Linked DNA regions of Homo sapiens: regions 2 and 3 are each linked to region 1. Evidence: promoter capture Hi-C in 16 types of primary human blood cells and fetal thymus (Javierre and others, 2016). All regions are on one chromosome and are shown on one strand. Each heading gives the region's core, a stretch centred on a gene start or on the middle of the fragment in contact. The rest is flanking DNA. Distances are from core to core; before and after follow the strand shown.

The links. The method cuts DNA at HindIII sites, captures the fragments that hold promoters and counts their contacts. A CHiCAGO score of 5 or more calls a contact.
Region 2: a fragment that was not itself captured here is called in contact with the fragment with the promoter of ADAD2 in region 1 in 3 of 17 cell types (M1 macrophages, monocytes and M0 macrophages); the score reaches 6.2 in M1 macrophages.
Region 3: a fragment that was not itself captured here is called in contact with the fragment with the promoter of ADAD2 in region 1 in 3 of 17 cell types (erythroblasts, M0 macrophages and M2 macrophages); the score reaches 5.2 in erythroblasts.

What each region holds. Positions count from the first base shown.
Region 1 is chr16:84,188,830-84,193,437 of GRCh38, forward strand. It overlaps ADAD2 (adenosine deaminase domain containing 2), which reads left to right and starts at 2,328. Exons shown (of 10, transcript NM_001145400.2): 1 at 2,328-2,819. The coding sequence starts at 2,402. It overlaps ADAD2-AS1 (ADAD2 antisense RNA 1), which reads right to left. Exons shown (of 5, transcript NR_147175.1): 5 at 3,729-4,608. RefSeq lists an enhancer at 2,074-2,368. The HindIII fragment of the contact is 4,803 bases long and covers 1-3,379 here.
Region 2 is chr16:83,988,978-83,993,585 of GRCh38, forward strand. NECAB2 (N-terminal EF-hand calcium binding protein 2) reads left to right here. Exons shown (of 13, transcript NM_019065.3): 6 at 1,517-1,653. Among named protein-coding and RNA genes, the nearest start is that of NECAB2, 23 kb to the left of the region's middle. The HindIII fragment of the contact is 5,019 bases long and covers 1-4,608 here.
Region 3 is chr16:84,054,818-84,059,425 of GRCh38, forward strand. MBTPS1 (membrane bound transcription factor peptidase, site 1) reads right to left here. Exons shown (of 23, transcript NM_003791.4): 21 at 4,485-4,608; 22 at 1,188-1,318. Among named protein-coding and RNA genes, the nearest start is that of SLC38A8, 14 kb to the left of the region's middle. RefSeq lists enhancers at 423-1,016, 1,017-1,609. The HindIII fragment of the contact is 5,418 bases long and covers 1-4,367 here.

The sequences.
Region 1 (4,608 bases), core at 1,078-3,577:
CTGGTCTTGAACTCCTGACCATGTGATCCACCCGCCTTGGCCTCCCAAAGTGCTGGGATTACAGGCATGAGCCACCACGCCCGGCCTAATTTTTGTAGTTTTTGTAGAGATGGGATTTCATCATGTTGCCCAAGTTGGTCTCTAACTCCTGGGCTCAAGCTACCTTCCCACCTGGGCCTCCCAAAGTGCTGGGGTTACAGGTGAGAGCCCTATTTTAAAGGCAGCTGATTAGCAACCTTACTTCCACCTGCAACCTTAATGCCCCCTTGCCAAATAATATACTCATAGGTTCTGGGGATTAGGCTGTAGACATCTTTGGGGGAACCATTATTTTGCCTACCACACTAATATTCTACATTACCCTTGTAAAACGCCTATCCAGCTTTGGCACTGCGAGGCCAGTTCCATTTCTTCCTTTCCTCCTTTCTCTGAATAAGCCATTATCAATTTGCTTTTGTAACTGACATATACTCAACATGCAGTAAAGCACACGAGTCTTAAATGTACAGCTCATTGAATTTTTATTCATACATAGAAACCCACATGAACACCACCCAGATCAAGACAGAGAACATTTCTATCACTCAAGAAAGTTCCAGCCAGGCACAGTGGCTCATGCCTATAATTCCAGCACTTTGGGAGGCCGAGGTGGGAGGGTTGCTTGAGTCCAGGAGTTCAAGACCAGACTGGTCAACAGAGCAAAACCCCCATCTCTACAAAATTTTTTTCTAAAAAGAAAATTCCCTGGTGCCACTTCCCAGTCAATACTTCCTTCAAGAAGGAACCACTATTTGGACTCTTATCACCACAGATTAGTTTTGCCAGTTCAAGAACTTTACATAAGTGGAATCATGGAGAGGATGTGTCTGGCTTCTTCCACGCCATGTGCCTAATAGATTCACCTGTGTTGTGTACGCAGCTGTTGTTTCCTTTTTAAATTAGTGAGTCGTGTTCCATTGTATGAATATACCATTGATTTGTTCACGCAACCTCCTGTTGGTGAGCGTTTGGGGCGTTACTGGGTTTGATGACTTTGTGGAAGTCTCTCTGTGGATATGTGCAGCCCTCAGTCCATTTCTGGACATCTGCTGTGCTGTCCCTTCACTCTCCTGGGCCTCATCCCACTCTCTGGGCTGCACACACACACAAAATGGAATTGTTCTTCCTGATGTCAATTCTTGACATGTTGGGGAGGCTGACTACCCAGCCCACCACACCTGCTTCTTCCAAGTCAAAGGTTCTGGGAGGACTCCACCACCTGGTCCTCATATGCCCCAGCATCCTCACTGTCACAATCCTGGAGAGAGCTGCCAGGCCCAGCTTCAGCAGCAGCAGCAGCAAGCACTGTGACAAATCTTACAGACACTGGTCATGCTTTCCCAAGTTAGTGGCTACTGTAAGACTCCGTTAAACTTGCAGCCTCCTTCAAGCAAATACGCGTTGCATCACAGTAAGCCTTGTGTAAATTGTCTTCATCCCTGTCTTTATCTTATTTTTCCTATGTCTCTTGATCTCTAGCTCTTCACTTTAAACAATTGTTATCTTGTCTTATTTGTATGAATTAACTCAAAATCCCTTCTTAGGGGGGAAAAAGGCAGAGTATCAAATGGCTATTTTCTTAAAAAAAATTATTTATTTATTTTTTGAGGCAGAGTCTCGCTCTGTTGCCCAGGCTGGAGTGCAGTGGCGCAATCTCAGTTCACTGCAGCCTCTTCCTCCCAGGTTCAAGCGATTCTCCTGCCTCAGCCTCCTGAGTAGCTGGGACTACAGGTGTGCGCCACCACGCCCACCTACATTTTGCATCAAATGGCTAATTCTTGGCTGGGGAACACTTATGTTTGGCTTCAGAAAGGCCTGCAGTGAAATTTTATATCCAATGATCCTGCTGACAGTGTGAACCCCTAATTCCTGTGTTGAAGTCTCCAGGCTCAGCCAGTGAAGCAGCTGAGCAGCCTGTGATGTGGAGGTGCCTAGGGGCCTAGGGCAGGAGCTAGAGTGTGAAACTGGACCTGACGCCCCCAGATGCTCCTCCCCCGCCTTGCAGGCTCCGCGACCACCCACGGTTAAAGAAGCAGCTGCTAGAGCAACCCCTCACCCACCCACCGGAACTTCCCTCCAGGCCATGGGACGTTGGTCTCAGCCGGAACTTCCGTCCAGGCAGTGGGACCTTGGCCTCAGCCATAAGCATCCAAGCCGCCGTCGTTGGGAGACTGGCCTTCCCATTGGCAGGGTGCACTGTCCATCACAGATCTCAGGGCTCTCATTGGCCATCGTATGGCAGGGGTGGAGCTCACCACGCTTCGTCCGCGTGCTCCCCACGTGAAGGCACCCGCCCTGCGCGTGTGAAAGGGCGAGAGCAGCGCGAGATAGGGCCTAGCGCCTCAGATCTTCGTTGGCGGCCATGGCTTCGGCTTCTCAGGGCGCTGACGACGACGGCAGTCGTAGGAAGCCCCGCCTGGCTGCATCGTTGCAGATCAGCCCCCAGCCCCGCCCCTGGCGACCGCTACCCGCCCAGGCCCAAAGTGCCTGGGGGCCCGCGCCCGCGCCCGCGACGTATCGCGCGGAGGGCGGGTGGCCCCAGGTCTCGGTGTTGAGGGACAGTGGGCCTGGGGCAGGGGCCGGAGTCGGGGAACTGGGGGCAGCCCGGGCGTGGGAAAACTTGGGGGAACAGATGGGGAAGGCCCCGAGGGTCCCTGTGCCCCCAGCAGGGCTCAGCCTGCCGCTCAAAGACCCACCTGCCAGCCAGGCCGTGTCCTTGCTCACGGAGTACGCGGCCAGCCTGGGCATCTTCCTGCTCTTCCGGGAGGACCAGCCACCAGGTGAGGCCGGGCCGGGGCATGGCTGTGCCAGAGGGCAGAGCCACGGAGGGCTGGGTCCCAGGACGTGGGGAGCAGGGGGTCTGGGGAAGGTGGACCTTGGTCCCTATGCTCAGAGACACCGCCGGAGCAGGACCTGGCCTGAGCTTGGGACCTTGGGGTGGACCCTGCTGTGAGCAGCGATCTCCAAGGATCACCAGCCACACCAGATGCTCAACTGTGAAAGAGTCATGGCAGGTGAACATTCTTCCCACCTGACTTCCAGGGAGGTTAAGGCCCCCTGGTATTTCTGTATACGTTTTTAGAGCCACTTACATGCAATTTAAGTTGCCGTGCTAGCATTGGAGATACCGAAATGGGAGCCACTCCCCTGACTTAAAAGACATTATTAAGCACAGTTTGGTAAGGGTAATACCGTGTACATGATACAGAGGTAAACCGTTATTTCCTCTTCTTCAATACATACCCCTTAAATCCCTTAACTCAGAGTGGTTGTTTTGTGTTTTGGATTTTTTTTGAGACAGGGTCTTACTCTGTTGCCCAGACTGGAATGCGGTGGAACAAGCTTGCCTCACTGCAGCGTCCGCCTCCTGGGCTCAAGTGATACTCCCGCCTCAGCCTCCCGAGGAGCTGGGACTACAGGTGGACTCCACTACACCTGGCTAATTTTTGTATTTTTTTTGTAGAGATTATGTGGTTTTACCATGTTGCCAAGATTGTTCTTGAAGTCCTGGGCTCCAGCTATCTGACCTCCTGGGCCTCCAAAGTGCTGAGATTACAGGTGTGAGCCACCACACTTGGCCCAGAGTTTTAATTTAAAAGTTAATTGCAGACATTATGCTCCTTACCTGTAAATACATTCACGTGTTTTTTGTTTGTTTGTTTGTTTGTTTTTCTTTTTTCTTTCTTTTTGAGATGGAGTTTCACTCTTGTGGCCCAGGCTGGAGTTCAGTGGCACTATCTCAGCCCACTGCAACCTCTGCCTCCCAAGTTCAAGTGATTCTCCTACCTCAGCCTCCTGAGTAGCTGGGATTACAGGTGTCCACACCAAGCCCGGCTAATTTATTTTTGTATTTTTAGTACAGATGGGGTTTCACCATGTTGGCCAGGCTGGTCTCAAACTCCTGACCTCTAGTGATCCGCCCGCCTTGGCCTCCCAAAGTGCTGGGATTATAGGTTAGAGCCACCTTGCCCAGCCCTCTTTTTTTTTTTCCTTTGAGACAGAGTCTCGCTCTGTGGCCCAGGCTGGAGTGCAGTGGTGAGATCTCAACTCACTGCAACCTTTGCCTTTCGAATTCAAACGATTCTTGCGCCTCAGCCTCCCGAGTAGCTGGAATGACAGACTTGTGCCCCCGTGCCCAGCTAATTTTTTTGTGTTTTAATAGAGATGGGGTTTCACCGTGTTGGCCATGCTGGTCTTGAGTTCCTGTCCTCAGCCCCACAAAGTGCTGGGATTACAGGAGTGAGCCACTGTGCCCGGCCTCATCTATATTTCTTAAAAACAAGGGCATCTCTTATGTAACTACAATACAATTATCAAATCCTGGAAATTTAACATTGATATAATACCATCTTCTAATTTCTATTCACATTCAAATTTTGCCAGTTGTCCCAGTAATGACCTCATGGCCATTGTTTCCCATCCCAGTATGACATTACAGTTAGCTGTCATGCCTCTTTAATCTCTTACCTGAAACAGTTCCTGTCTTTGTCTTTCACAACATTGATGTCTTTGAAGAGTAAGGGCCAGTAGTTTTGCGAATGTCCTTCAGCTTGGGTTTGTCTGTTTCCT
Region 2 (4,608 bases), core at 1,240-3,739, 200 kb before region 1:
GGAAAATAACTTGTCTTCTTTGGAATTCAGCTAACCAGTAACACTTATTGATCGCTGACCACATCTTCAGTCACTGGTCCGGGTGCTTTTAACACACTTCAGCCCATTTTTCTGCTGATCACTTCTAGCAGCCTTTTGCTTTGTGTTTAAATATTTTACCAAGTTATGTCTTCATGTCCGTTTTTGGCCATTCGCGTGTCTGGAGTCTGTTGATCACTGGATCATGTGTGGTTTTGGTCATTGCCATTTATTCAGCTGCGGGAACCTGCCAAGCTGTAAGAACCTGACATAGTTTTGGCCATGTACTCTGTCAGGGTCTGTCCCCAGCAGACCCTGGTCTGGCTGTCGGCTTGGTGGCTTGGGTCGCCCACCTTCACCACGCCTTAGCTGTCTTCTCATGTGCCCCTCCTCCTCCTCTGTTTCTCAGTCTGTCTGTCAGCCGTGTTTCCCATTGTGCAATTATTGCTAATTAATTCCCAGTCAGAGTGATGGATGGTTTAATTTGCTTTCCTTGAGAGCCCTGTTTTTCCTTGCCTTGCCAGGGACTGGGCAGAAATCCAAGGTGCCTGGGGCAGGTGGCTTGGGAAGGCGGGGTCTTGGCAGAGGAGGCCAGGAGAGCAGGGCAGGGTTTGGGAGACCCAAGATCCCCCAACACAGCATCATTTTCATCATCCCGTCCTTGAGCGACGTGGGTAAGCAGAGCTTTCTCCCTTCTGCTGTAAAGTCTTTGCAGCCCAAAGCATCTCCACTGGATCCAAAAGCCTTGAGAAATGTCCTTGCAGAATCTCAGGACAGAGGTGGAAATTCTGTTCCACACCACAGAGCAAAACTTGGAAAAAACTTTCTTTTTCGTCTTTTCCCCAGAGTTCCGCTAAGACTCCCTCTCTGATTTCCCCCCAGGCTCCTCTCTGGCCACCTCCTTTTGATTACTAAGCCCCGGGCACTTTCCTCCCTTCAGCTGCTTTTGATTCCGTTTTGTCATTTTCCTTAGTAGCAGCCTGGAGATCCAGGAGCCCTAGGAATCCTCCTTGCAGGAGGAAGGAGGGAGGGAAGGTCGTGGATTCTTCTTGCCTGATCATTATCCTTGTCACAGCAACAACAAAACTACCAGTCACTATCACTGCCACCATCACCGTCATCTATATTGTAGCACCTACTGTTGATTGAGTCTTTGCTGTGTGGCAGGCCCTGTGCAGAGCATTGTACACGCATGTTGCTGTTTAATCTTCGCTACAACCTTGTAAGATAGATGCTTCAGTGACCCCATTATACTCTGGGAGGTCACAGAGCTAGTAAGTGGTGAAGCCAGGGTTCAAATTTGGTCTCTAAACCTCTAGCCTCTGCGTTGGAAATGCTACAGCCTCTAAGACTGGACCCCAGGAGGCCGTGGGGTCCTCCCTTCCCTTTGCAAAGCAAATTCACCAGCACCAGCTTTCCCCCAACTCCTGTGCTAGACCCCACCTCCAATTTCCCTCCCACCCCTTTCCCCTCAGTGCCTCTTCTCTTCCTTCCACAGGTATATGAGGGTGGGAGCAACGTGGACCAGTTTGTGACCCGCTTCCTCCTGAAGGAGACGGCCAATCAGATCCAGTCGCTGCTGAGCTCAGTGGAGAGTGCGGTGGAGGCCATCGAGGAACAGACCAGCCAGCTCCGGTGAGTCTCTGAGACCCTGCAGGGTCCCATGGGGGTATGCCGTGCACGCGCACGTGCCCACCTGCTGCTTGGTGGGGATGTCTGTGTACCTAAGAGCTGGGTGACCTTGGGCAAGTTGCCACAGCTCTTTGTGCCTTTGGTGCTCCATTATGTAATATAGGCACAATTATATACCTAAAATCTCAGCCATTGCAAGGATTGAATGAGATAGTAAATGCTCAGGAGAATGCCTGGTGTACATATTTATTAATACAGTGAAGACACCATTTCCCAGACTCTAATTTGTTTTGCTGCATCCACATGCTAATTGTTTATGCAGAACTATTCTGTTGTTTGGCCCACGTTTTATTTATTTATTTATTTTTTTGTTTTAGACAAAAAGTGTCGCTCTGTCGCCCAGGAGTGCAGTGGCGTGATTTTGGCTCACTACAACCTCTCCCTCCCTGGGTTCAAGCAATTCTCATGCCTCAGCCTCCTGAGTGGCTGGGACTGCAGGTGTGTAACACCATGCCTGGCTGATTTTTGTATTTTTAGTAGAGACGGGGTTTTGTCATGTTGGCCAGGCTGGTCTTGAACTCCTGGCCTCACGTGATCCACCTGCCTTAGCCTCCCAAAGTGCTGGGATGAAAGGTGTGAGCCACCACAGCTAGCCTATTTTCTCTTTCTCTCTCTCTCTTTCTTTCTCTCTTTCTCTCATTCGTTCTTTTTTCTTTTTCTATTTCCTTTTCTTTTCTTTTCTTTTTTTTTTTTTTTTGAGATCGAGTCTTGCTCTGTCACCCAGGCTGGAGTGCAGTGGCGAGATCTCAGCTCACTGCAACGTCCGCCTCCCAGGTTCAAGCGATTCTCCTGCCTCAGCCTCCCTAGTAGCTGGGATTACAGATGCCCACCAGCACACCCAGCTAATTTTTGTATTTTTAGTAGAGATGGGGTTTCACCATGTTGGCCAGGCTGGTCTTTAGGGTGATCCACCCGCCTCAGCCTCCAGGTGCTGGGATTGCAGGCTTGAGCCATGGAGCCCGGCCTTATTTTATTTATTGACACAGAATCTTGCTGTGTCCCCCAGGCTGGAGTACAGTGGCACCATTGTGGCTCACTGCAATCTCCAACTCAGGTTCAAGCAATTCTCCCACCTCAGCCTCCCAAGGAGCTGGGACTACAGGCATGTAGTCCCACCCACACCCAGCTATTTTTTTTTTTTTTTTTTTTGTAGAGACGGGGTCTCGCCATGTTGGCCAGGCTGTTCTCAAACTCCTGGTCTCAGCAATCCTGCTGTCTCAGTCTTCCAAAGGGCTGGGATTACAGGCAGGAGCCACCACACCCCAGCCCACTTTTGAAAATTAGAAAGCAGTTTAGGAAATGGCATATGGTTATAACTGCACTCTCGGCATCACATGCCGTAAGTGAAGTAACTGTAAAAATAAGCACCTGTCATTGTTTACGATCCAGCTTGAATCCTGAGGCTTGCCACCTCTCTGTTAAAAAGAGAGACTGGGGGGAAATCAGAGAGGTGTTGAAGACAGTAGTAGCAAGTTGAGAGTTTCTCAGGAGGACTGAAAGAGACGTGAAAGAGGAGTGTTTCTTTCTGGTCTTGTGTTAGGCCTTGTTTGTGTGCTTGGAACCATGGGAATGCATCTGGGGTCCCATCCTAGGTGGTGGCTGCTGTGTTAGGGGTGTGACCTGGTATTTAGAGAGGAGCGACATTCTCGTGGCTCAGCAGTCCCATCTCCCGGGGAACACGAGCACCCGTCCCCCCGCCCACCTCCATTTGCTGTTTCAAATTGAGAAAAACCCTTCTTTGCTCAGTTCTTCCCAGAACAGCTGATGTGCTTGACACAGAAGAAAAAGAGAAAATGCAAACAGATGAGGGAAACAGCCAGGTGTCGGCACCCAAGCTCGATTGAGCCCTTAATTTTCCAGGCAGAGAGGTACCTCAGGACCAGGATATTGGTTTGCTGGGGGACTGGGGTTTGATCGTGTGTTTCTTCGTAGTTGAAGAGCTGGTCCTGATCAGACATGATTGTGAAGGTAACTCTGAGACACTGTTTCCCAAATGAGTTTGATCTGAGCATTTGCGCTGAATCACCTGGGAAAATTAAAATACACATTCCTGGGCTCCTGGCCATACTCACTGGCTAGAATCCCTGGACTGGAGCCCAGAACTCTGCACATGTGGTCAGTCTTGTGATTCTTGGGTGCCCCAGAATTAGCAGCCATCGCTGTGAAAAAAGCTGACACTTAGATTTCCTGGGTTTTCCTGTTACTATCTTGATGAAAAACTTGCTGTTTTTCTCCTGCCGCAGAACAGATAGTATGGCTGCGCAGTTTTCAGGGCAGACTTCCCACACTGGGTCAGCTCCATCACGCGTCAGCAGTTACACCCACCTGCCCCCATGGTGGGGACCTTACTTGGGGATGTTGTCAGACGGGGCAGCTTGTCGTGATACCTCTGTTCCACACATGCCCCTCCCTCGAACTTCCCCAAATCTCAGCTAGTTTGGCTCTAGGCTGTGGGTCCCTGAGGACTATCCTGTTTCCCAGCCCCAGGACAGTCTCCCAGGATGTCACCTCTAGCACAGGCTACTGGCTCAGACCCCACCACCCGGGAGCCCTGAGCAACCCGTCATGGTCTGAGGGATACATTTAATTTCCTGCTGGTTTATAGAGAAGCCATGATTGACACCATAAAGACTCTGCCAGCCTCTCCCCTCCCAAGGCGGGAGTCGAGTTTGCTCCCTCCGCAAGGGGGAGAGCCTGGCGGAGTGTTCAAGGTTCACAAGAGACAAATTCCAGAATGCACCAAGACCGCGATGCACAGAGACCAAGCGGGTGTTGGGGCCGTGCACAGGGCACTCTGTGTGTCTTCTGGGGGAGTGTCTGTGTTTCTGTATGTCTGCCAGGAGCTTTTCAGCATCCTTTTGCATGGGAGGATTTGGTCATTCATTGAGCATTTTTGAG
Region 3 (4,608 bases), core at 409-2,908, 130 kb before region 1:
AAGAGTGGATGAGAGCAAAGAGCAGCCACTTCCTGTGGGGTGGAGGCTCGGTGGATCTCTGCTGCCCTTCCTCCCTGGGATCCCCGCAGACGGATGATCAGGCCCAGCTATGCTTCTGTCACAACCTACCGAAGGGAGGCCCAGAGGCGCTCTGTGTTTCTCTAAACACAAGGGAAGATGGGCACGTCTCTATCCAGGGGAGAAGGAGGGGCCTGTGGTTCCAGCTGAGTGGGAGGAGGAGAAAGGGGGCGTGGCGGAAGAAGCACCGCTGGCAGTGCCCCGCCTCTGGGAAAGCCCTTCATGGAGGGGACGTGTGGCTGAAAGCCAGGAGAGGCCATCAGAGGACCCTGGTTCAGAATGTCAATACGACTGGGCAAGGCCAAGGGCTCTGGAATTTACCTTCAGCGCACCCCGTGACCTATGCGCAAGGCCCTCAGGACCCTGGCACCACCACGTGGTGTCCAGGGCTGGACTGCACAGACAGGGGTGCCCCTTCCTGATCCCATTTCTGGACAATTCCTGGAACCCAGAGAAACTCCTCTTGGTAGCTATAAACTCTTTGGAAGAGTACAGGGGACTCTAGAGCAAAAGAACTGCCCAGGCTCGGCTGGAAAGGCCTGGTACCAATTGCCTTGGGTAGTGGAGAAGAACCTGCCCTAGGCAGTCTATGTAGCCAGTCAGGATCCCTGGAGAGACAGACAGGATGAGACCACCTAAGGGACACACCCCAGCTCAGTCAAGTCCCTCCCAGGGGGGCAGGGCAGAGAACTGAAGGGGCCTTCTGGGCTGAGGGCTGGGAGCCAGGGCGGCTGCTGCCATTGGCTGGGACCCAAACCAGCAGACAGGCATCCTGTAAGGGACGTTAATAGGTGGCTGGCAGAACTTTCATAAAGAGCGTGCAAGTTACTTTGAACATGTTTAAGTAGATCACCCAGCCGTTGTAAAATAAATTCAAATGTGAAAATCTAGGTAGCATTTTCTAAGGGAAACAACAATCTCTTAATCTGTCAGGCCTGCCCTTGCTCATGCTGGTTTGTGCCACAAAAGAAGCCAAGAGCCAAGGCCACCACAGCTCCCAGGAAGGCAGAGACAGGGAGAGTCTGGCCCGCCTCCTGGGGAGGGAGGGAGACTCCTTTGAACAAAATACAGGATGACTGAGCACAATCACAAAGCAGCCGAGAACTCACCTCCAGGAATGTCCCAGGCGCCGCTCTCTCCAGGGGACAAGGGCCTCACTTGAGGGCGATTCGATCGAAAGTTGGGTAACACCACCTTGTCCAGGTCAATGGAGAGTAGCTTCTGATGTTTCCAAAGGTTACTTCAGGAAAATGGATTAAAACAAAACAAAAATAAGCCATTGTACTAGTCTAGGTACTAGTCTAGGAAGTTCAACTGAAACTCAAGACAGAGCAAGTGATCTACGGGGAGATGTGAAATGCCATTTGCGTCCACGGCCACCTAAATGCCACTGACAGCAACTATGGTGGCCGTTTCCACGTCCCGAGGGAGAAAGATCAAAATCAAGTCCCTGTTCATGAGATTCTACTGAGTTTACAATATGACCAGCAGGAGCCTGTTTTTGCATAAAGCTAAACATGACCAAGCGCCTCGGGAGGACACTCCAAGCGAGGCCCTGGAAGGAGCCTGTCAGGGGGAGGAGCTGAAGCCTGCTGAGTGGACCTGAGCCTGGGGCTATCGAGGTCCTCTCCCTAAGGCCTGGAGCAGTCGGAGGCAATGGTGATTCCAGAACCACTGCATATAAGGAAGTGGGCAAACTGGTGCCGGGAACCAGACAGCATCTTTGTCTCTGAAGAAACCACTGTCTCCAGGGAGAATACGAAACATACAAGGAACCAACAGTGGGAGAGAGTCTGAGCAGCAAAACGTGGGGTCCCCATCTGCCTTGCCTGCAGGCGGGGGACGATCAAATGAACGTGTGCGATTCCTGCACTCTGTGGTGCACAGTATCATTATTAACTCTGGGATCTGAAAAACTCGTTCAGGCCAATACAACTTAGACCCGAAGAAGACAGAGAGGTTGATACGCTGGCAACAGCAGCACAGAGCTTGGGAGGACACCGGAGCTAGAGCGAAGAGCGCGATGGGAAAAACACTACTCTGGCTTAAGTGAGGGGGAAGAATACAGTAAGTTTGCAAATTAAAATTTCTCTATTTTTCTGTTATTTATTCATTTGGAAACTGTCAGCCTGTCTCTTTCACTTTGGGCAAGTGAAAGCAAAGACGTCCAGTCCTATCAGCAATTAGGCTGAAAGTCAACGCCAAGCTGGCGGGCAAGGGCTGGTCTGAGTAGAGGTTCCCTAGGCAGGCAAGAGAGAGACTCCCACTCGATACTCCCAGCTCGGCAACTGCCTGAATGCCAATGAGCACTCATTATAACCCGCCCTATTTTATAGGATTTAATTTTACACTTCAGGCTTAATCAGTCTGAAAGTTAAACTGACAGTGTTAAGTTACGGAATCAATGACATTTAGGCTTTATGACTTTGTAGCTGAATATCTATGGGCTATATTTCCATTCTAACAGTGATATCCTGTTCCAGAATCTCATTCTTTGGTGATGGCACTTTCTAGTGGAGCAGTCATGGTAACAGTCCACACCCATTACCATGTGGGTGCTTTACAGCATACTGACGGAAGGACTGAGGAGCCACCGGAGCAGGAGTTCCTCTCAGGGAGGACGCTGACACTTCCACAGCTGCCCTAGGTATGGGCACCTGATGCCAACGAAGAAGCCCAAAGCGCCTCTCCACTTCACAGATGGAAGCCTGCCCCCAGCACTGGGCTGACAGCATCTGGAGCTGTCTCCTGGTCTCAAATCTCTTTTGGAGACTCAGAATATGCGTCGATCTAGGTCTCTGGGGACCGAGAATAATTTTCAACAAGATATGAAAAGCAAGATAAATGTAAAACCCAGCAGCGTACTGAGAAGAAGGAATTACTGAGTGATTGTGAAAATCAAATTCCAGGAGCTGTCCATTATCAACATGCTGGATGGGCCGGTTCAGTATGTGATGGATTATTTGATGTGAACAGGTAGATAGCCAAGGATAGAAAGGATATTGTTATCTGCTTCAAGTCCTGAACAACACTGTGGAGAATAATTGGGTTTCTGGAAATTCAGCTAACACTGTTCACTGAGTATGAATTGCTGACCATGGCTGGAATATAAATGCTGGTTTGAATGCTAGGCTAATAGAAGGTTATAAATAAATAAGATGCAAAAATGGAAACTTATCAGAAATGTTTAAATGATGAGATGTGAACTGGAATGGAAAAGTACCCAGTGATTAAGGTTCAGGAAGAAAGCTACTGATGAGACAATGTGATGATTCTACCATTTTCCTGTGTTCTATTAAGCATATTCGAAATGAAGACATACGGTCAGTGCGTGGTGTGTTCAGCACTTTCGGTTTATGATGAGGAGTAAAGGCGGAAGGCAGCCTCGCCACCTTCACACGGGCACTCTCCTCTTCGCCTTACAGGACGGAAGGTGGCCTCCGTCCCTGGCCCCATACCATCACTGGAGGAAAAGAAGGCAGGCAGGGGGCCTGTCAAGAGGGTAGCCTCCTGCCTGAGGGGCTGGGGAGAGGGGCCGGGTACCAGGCGGCCAGGGGGCCTCGGAGGGCAAGACTCCTGCTTGATGGGGTGGGAGGTGTGCCTGCCCGGCCACGGACACAGCTCTGACAGCTGTCCCTGGCTTCATCCCCTTTCTCAGGAGAAGCTCCCCCTTTCTTCTTATATTGTCCTGTTTGGGCCAGGGACGTCACAGAAAAAGTAAGGGGGTGGCATCTGGAGAAAAAGGGGACCAGCCATGCCGAGCTGGTCCTAGCCACAGAGGGAAACAGCAGGTCCACCTCAAACACTGGGTACGGAAAGGAAACGATGCAAATGAAGAAGCCGAGTTAGTGAGCTGGAGAAGGGATCCAGGCGGCACTGCAAACAGGAGTGTGGAGACAGCAGCAGAGGTCACAGCCTGCCATCGGAGGCGGGTGCTTTCACCCCCAGTCACAGTCAGCACAGGACGTAATGACACAGAAGCATGCTCTTCTTGGACAGGCTGCAACCGCGGCCCCCGGGGATGACAGAAGAAGGGAACTATCTGTATCTTATCATCAATGTCTGAAACAGGGAACACACTGCAGCCGGCAGCTCTTAACTCCCCAACCACAGGACTTAGAGCTCCAGCTCCCATGAAATCACTCTGTTGGATCCCAGCTTTTTAAAAAAGAATTAACCAAATGTAACAAAATGCTAATTATCCAAAGCACTTTTTATGCAGGATACCACCAAAGAGCCTATTTCCAAAGGCCAATACGAGGTTCACTAAATAACTGTCGCAAATGACAAGCTTGAAGATCTGACAATTCGATAGTGATGTCAGTAAAATTCCATTCTCTCCTATAAGAAAAGCAATGACTCACAAGCCCCGTGGAAAGAGTGGAAGGGCACAGGCGGACACTAACCTGGGCGCCGTCTCGTTTAAAGGCTGTGGCTTGGCCCAAGACAAGCGTGGACAGGCTGGTAGAGGCCGAGGTTTTGGGTCTCCCAAATGGGCCTCCAGAACCTTGGAGTACCGATGAAGATGGT